Linked DNA regions of Homo sapiens: region 1 is linked to region 2. The links are contacts of gene promoters, found by promoter capture Hi-C in blood cells and fetal thymus (Javierre and others, 2016). All regions are on one chromosome and are shown on one strand. The core of a region is centred on a gene start or on the middle of the fragment in contact, and the rest is flanking DNA. Distances in the headings are between cores, read along the strand shown.

Region 1 (3,219 bases), core at 477-2,976, 370 kb before region 2:
GCCCTCAGGCTCTTTGTTCCTTCCCCAGTCCAAAGACAACAAGGTCAAAACCACTGCAGTGGCAGTGGTAAAGGGGCTGTCTGTTGCCACTGGGAACTCCACCCCAGGGAAACACAGAACCACTGCCAGTGGGAATGCTTAGTTGGGGGTGGCGTAGCTGCCCTGTAGTCCCAAGCCAGGGGCCTTGCCTGTTGAAGAGTAGGGAGCGAGGCCTCACAGGGAAGACAGACTGGGCTCCTCCCCATATGGTGGCTGTGGTGTGCTGGTGGTGCCAGCAATGCGACCTGGACCTTTGTTCCTTCCCCAGCCCAAAGGCAGTAAGGGCAGTACCACTGCAGCTGCAATGAGAGGGGCTGTGGGTTGTCTCTGTGATTTCCTCCCTAGAGAATGACAGAGCTGCCACTGACTTAAATGTTTGGGCGGGGACAAGGTGGTTGTTCTGGGGGCCTGGGTAGAGAGACCCTGCCCACTGAGGAGTAACAGGGCCAGGGCCCATGTGGAAGAGAGTCTGCCTTCTTATCTAAAAAGCAGCTGCACTGTGCTGGAGGATTGCATTAGTCCTAAGTCTTTTGGCTCCCTCCTGAGCCTGAGGGAAACAGGAGCAGGAGCTGCAGAGCAGCAAAAATGGCAGACCTGCCTGCTACAATTGAGAGCTCTGTCCCAGGGAAGTACAGATCCCCCAGGGGGATCTGCTACTGGCCCAAGAGCCCAGACATGGGTGGGGTGGCTGGAGTCCCAAGTCTGGAGGCCCTGCCCAGTAAGAAGTAGTGGGGACAGAGATCTATGTGGAAAAAAGTCTGGCCACTTTTCTGTAAGGCAGCTGTGCTGTGCTGGGGGCCTGCATTAGTCCTTAATCACCCTGCCAAGACTGGGGGACCCGTCTGCTACCACTGAGAGCTCCATTCCAGGGAAATACAGGGCTGCTATTGGCTCTAGAGCTCAAGTGAGGCTGGAGTGGCCATGCTAGGGACCCAGCCAAGTGGGCATTATCCAGCAAGGTGCAATGGAGGTGAGGCCTGCAGTCCATCTGCTCCTCAGCCCCGTGGATTTAGCCCCTATACTGGAGGCATTCCAGGGAGCCTGGCCTCTCTTGTTGCCAGAGCTACAGCCACTGGTGCTGGGGTGCCCAGCAGTCCAAGGGCCCTGGAGCTCCATGTGTGCCTGAGCAGTGGCTCTGCCTAGACTCCATGTAGCTCTCCATGTCAGTCTGCAGGCTCTGCTCAGGGAGTCAAGGGGATCTTCTGAGCACAGGGTTGTGAAGATCTGTAGCAGAAGCTTTAGTGAAATTTCAGACATTAACAACAAAGTTTCCCTGATTTATTTAACTTCTCCTAACTTTCTATAACCTGATATAAAATGGACATTTAATTATAAATTACTTGAGTAAAGGTTAAGATTAATGAAAATACTACTCAAGTAACTTATAATTAAATGCCCATTATCATCATCAGCATCATCATCTAAAGGGGTTATTGAGTAGGCATCCATGGGGTGGTGTGAAATGACCAGCCCCTAAGCCTTGGTGGCCCATTATCTACAGAAGATATCACTGGGCACATTAAATGTTTCCCAATCTTCTTTCGTTATCCAAAGGAGCCTTATTAGACATGTTTTTCCTCCTTATTAGTCCCTTCTTGCCTGAAATGTGAAATTTTAATACCACAGATATAGTGTTAACTGTTTATGTATTTTGGTCCTATGTAGTGCCACAAACCATTTTAATGTCTACTATCTCCCTACCCTTAAAAACCAATTCTCAGCCCCTTGGGGGCAATATATCCTCTGTTGAAAATGCATGGAACATTTTAAAGAGGACAAAAGCTGGAACCTCATTCCTGCCTTTTACTTGATGTGTGACACTGGAAAACTTCCTTAACCTCTGTCAGCTTGCCCATGGTCATCCGGAAAAGGGAACCACTGAGAGCTCATGATGTGTTACTTACAGAACTGTCCTGTGGGGTAAATGAGAAATCCTATACAGAGAAGATGGCACCTAGAGAAATCCTATACAGAGAAGATGGCACCTAGTCTTCAACAAATATTCATCCTGGCCCACTTTTCTTCTCCTTCCCAGAGAAGTGATGACTGTCATCTAAACCAAACAGCATAACTACCACAGAGACCAGCTGGTAATGGAGCAGGAAGAAGTAGCATATACTTACATTTAGTTTATAAATGAAGCTTTGGGGCTATTTCTGTGATGCAGGATGGCTTTGCCAAGGAATGTGGGAAGAGGGAAAAGATCATCAAACCATTTCTTTAATTCTGTGTCATTTTTGCCCCATTATTTGAGCTTCTATACTGATATTGGAAAAATAGTTTCCTATGGAGTGTCAAATAAAGAAAGAGTGCAGATAAAGAGGAGAGAGAAGTCACATGCCCTTGACCCTCATACCATTACCACCTACAGGACTCTGAACCAGAATTTCATCTGCACCAGTGGGTAATTCAAAGTGGGAGGAGTTGTTGAATGTGTATCCATGAAGGCACAATACTACAAACGTGTAAAACTACTAGGTTTTAAATCCTAGAATGTCATGGTGTATAAAATATTGATAATTATTGCTTTGGTTTTGAATTAGGGGAAAATATATCCTCGTATACTTGGAAGTGGCTCCCTCAGTATCTTTTATTCTTGAGCTTCAGGGATATTCTTCATTCTAAATGTGTATCTCTTTCCTGTGGGTGGGGTAAGGAATGCTTGAATGTTCCTGACAATGTTTTTGTATAATTGCAGGAGCATTTGATATTTATTACAGTTATAAATACATAAGAAATGAAATAAACAGCATTACTCTAAAACAAAAGAGAATACCTGCTCTCAAAATATCTTGAGTATTTCAAAGAGAATACCTGCTAATGCTTATATCTGTATAATATTCTTTCACAAATTTTCTTATGCAGGTACTTATAAATTTATGCAGAAATGAATACATTTATATACTTATCTACAAAATATAAGATCTCATTCTACATTTAGTTTTATAACCTGCTTGTCTCACTAAAACCATACCTCAAAGGTCATTGGTTGTGAGTAAATATGAGTCTTTACCACAGAGATAGTAAATACTAATGGCCAATAAAGACAGAGAAACAAATATGGCTACAATATGTTATGTGCCAAGTGCTTTTTAGCTACTGAGTCGTTCAATTCTCACGGCACCCTTACAAGGTTGAAACTGTTGCTGATCTCCATTTTGTAGATGGAAAACTAAGGAG
Region 2 (3,074 bases), core at 466-2,965:
TAGGCTTCAGGCTGCCTTGGTACTTGTCAGTCATGTATTAAATGTTTTACACATATTAAATATGTAATTTAGTCCTGAAAACTCTGTGAGATACTTCAAACTATTAGCCTCATTTTATAGATGAAGCACAGAGAAGTTGCAGTATCCAAGTTTTACATTCAAGTTTATACAAAAGCTAAGTAAGTACAATTAATTCAAACTAGGATTTGTCCAATGCCATTCTTCTTACTAATATGCAAAGTCTTCAACACCCGAATCCTTCAGCCATTTTATAACTCTGAGTCTAACCATCTGCATGAAAAGCTGTTCACAGAGGATTCAGGAATTTTTCTCCCCACAAACGAATTTTTTGCCTCTATCACAACTAGTCATTCCTTAATAACTGTGACAATGATGCTCTACTGTTTTTAAGACTTTTTTCTGACCACTGAACTTTTTTCTGGAGTCATTTATATCAAACTGATTAGTGGTAACTTTATATTCATAATGAGCTGCAATCTTCCTAAAAACAACTTATGAGAAGTTTACACATCTCCCTTTCTATTGCATATATTTCAAGCTAACAAATCAAGAGCAAATCTACTTAGACAAGTACCCAAATCCTTAGCAACAAAAAGTTTAGTGTGTTGGGTGGCTAAATGTGACTAATTTTTGTTAGTACTACAAGTAGCTTTCAATACATCAGTATGGCTAAATAAGGTCATGGAAAACATAAATAGGATGGAGATGTCTAGGGAAAATGAAAAACTATTCTTTTCTGAATGAGAGTGTTGAAAAAAGTTGGGATATTAGGGGTACAGTATTGAAGAAAAAAGGGTTATGTGTATGGTATAAACTGGAAGAAAGAGGGCATGATACTGAGCTCAAACTAGTTAAAATTTGTGACTTACAGTTGCGATCTGGAAATCTAAGGGCAAGGTGCTGTAGGATTATGGTCTCAGTGACTCACCTAATGGAAGGACCTCACATGCCCGGGAGCCCCTCAAAAGAGTAGGTTCCAACTGACCTGTACATCTTAAACTTCAAAAAATATGTCTGCCTAAAGGGTCTATATTTATATTATGACTTCAGCAGCAGAAACAGGTGGCTGGCCTTTTTATCCTCCTATCTGGAATCTTTTTCCAAATGTACATATCTTTATCATATTTCTGATTATTAAAAGTATATAATAAGTTTATGGAAAAATTGGAAAAGAATAAGAAATTATCAAAACAAAAGTAAGAAGCACAATCCAAATCATTACCTCCTTTCCTAATTCACCCCATTCCCTCCAATCTGGTTTCAAGGATTGGACTCCAAGGGAAATGATGGCTATTAGTGGCTGAGAGGCGATTGGATGGAGGAGACTGCCACTTTTCTTTTCTTGTAGCTTAGAAAAGGATAAGTAATCCTCCCTCTCAGCACAACCACAAAAAAAGTAACAATGGTTAATATAACTTTGGGAAAATGCAGCCCCTCCCTGGTAATCAGAGAAAGGCAAATTCTGACCACAGGGAGAAGGCGCCACTTTTGACCTCTGGAATTAGCAAAGACAAAAATGAGTGACAGGGCCTGGTGTGGTGTGGGGTGGGAGGTTGGTAAGCCGGTCCACTTCTGCAGCGCTGCTGGTGGGAGGGGAAAGTGGGGACCAGAGATGGGGGATGACATAATCCTCACGTGATCAGGAGCTGACGTGAACCGAAGTCCTTATATTCCCGGGCTTCTTTCTCCTCTGGGTACCAGCTCCTTACTGCCCTGCAGACAAGCGTGCCGTGCGTGCTTGTGGCCAAGGGAAGGAAGAGGTAAATTCCTTAAATCCCAGCAGGTTGGAGTGAAGGAACCACTGGACCCCCGGGGTCAGTAGTGGGTGAATCTAATGACTGGAATAGGTCCAGACTTGCTTTCCCAAAACCGCTGCAAAATCGTCGGAGATAATTGTATCTTTTGCAGGGGGAAGCAAGGGGGTAGGTCGAAATCTTTTGAGAGACACCTAGAGATTTAGTGACAGCTTTGAAATAATCGGCTTCTCTCACCCTGGCATGCTTTCTTTTTATCCTTCTCCTCATCTTTCTCCAATTTTGTTAAGAGAAAATTTTAGGCCTGGGGTATGTGTTGGTGTGTGGAGAAAGGCTGAAATCCCGGGATGGAGACAACAGAAATTTAGAGATCATTTGAAAATAGTTCACCTCACTCAATGCCGGCCTGTGGTGGTGGGGTGGGGCGCGGGACGGGGCGAAGGAGGGAGACGCGGGCCTTGCAAGGCCCAGGCCTGAGGGTGAGGAGTGGGGAGTGGAAACGGAAATCCTGAAGGAAAGGATACAGACAGGAAGGAGGGGCCAGGAGGTAGAAATCCGGGGGGCGATGACGGTGATGATGAGAATCCCAGGTTCAAAATAATAACGTCTGTCTTGTCTCTGGAGCTGGTTGATCCACAGATAGCTCCTTCCTCCCCGCCCCTTCCTTTTTGTTTGGAGGTCCCAGGATCTGTGTTCACAGACATCTGGGGGAAGAAAAGGAGCAGGAAACTACCCCGCACAGGTCAGTATGAGAGAGGCACTTAGACTGAGATCTCTGAGGATAGGAGTCGGGAAGGGGCAAAAGCTAGGCGAAATTTGCGGCTTCGCAGTCCATCTCCTTTTCTGCTCCGCCTCTCCTGCCTATTGGAGAGGCCATTAGCTTTGTCTGCTGGGGAAACGGTGGGTTCCTGAGGTGGGAGGGGAGAAAAGGGGGAGATGAGAGGGTGGAGGGAACTGCCGCAGACTTATGAGGTCTGGACCTGTGGGGCAGAGATGGGAAAGTATCTTGCCTCAGAGAGAAACTGACAATCGTGATTCAAAAGTAATGAAGCAATTTGTCTTTACATTTTCTCCCTAGAGTTAAGCAGGAAACAACAACAACATCATGCAAAAACCCTGCAAAGAAAACGAAGGAAAGCCAAAGTGCAGCGTGCCAAAGAGGGAGGAAAAACGCCCGTATGGAGAATTTGAACGCCAGCAAACAGAAGGGAATTTTAGACAGAGGCTGCTTCAGTCTCTCGAAGAATTTAAAGAGGACATAGACTATAGGCATTTTAAAGATGAAGAAATGACAAGGGA

Evidence for each region. The method cuts DNA at HindIII sites, captures the fragments that hold promoters and counts their contacts. A CHiCAGO score of 5 or more calls a contact.
Region 1: a fragment that was not itself captured here is called in contact with the fragment with the promoter of TCEAL7 in region 2 in 1 of 17 cell types (erythroblasts); the score reaches 5.0 in erythroblasts.

What each region holds. Positions count from the first base shown.
Region 1 is chrX:102,959,661-102,962,879 of GRCh38, forward strand. LINC00630 (long intergenic non-protein coding RNA 630) reads left to right here. Exons shown (of 12, transcript NR_146589.1): 12 at 1,946-3,219. Among named protein-coding and RNA genes, the nearest start is that of RAB40AL, 24 kb to the left of the region's middle. The HindIII fragment of the contact is 906 bases long and covers 1,274-2,179 here.
Region 2 is chrX:103,328,524-103,331,597 of GRCh38, forward strand. TCEAL7 (transcription elongation factor A like 7) reads left to right here and starts at 1,716. Exons shown (of 3, transcript NM_152278.5): 1 at 1,716-1,781; 2 at 2,400-2,517; 3 at 2,854-3,074. The coding sequence starts at 2,881. RefSeq lists an enhancer at 2,232-2,731. The HindIII fragment of the contact is 8,380 bases long and covers 1-3,074 here.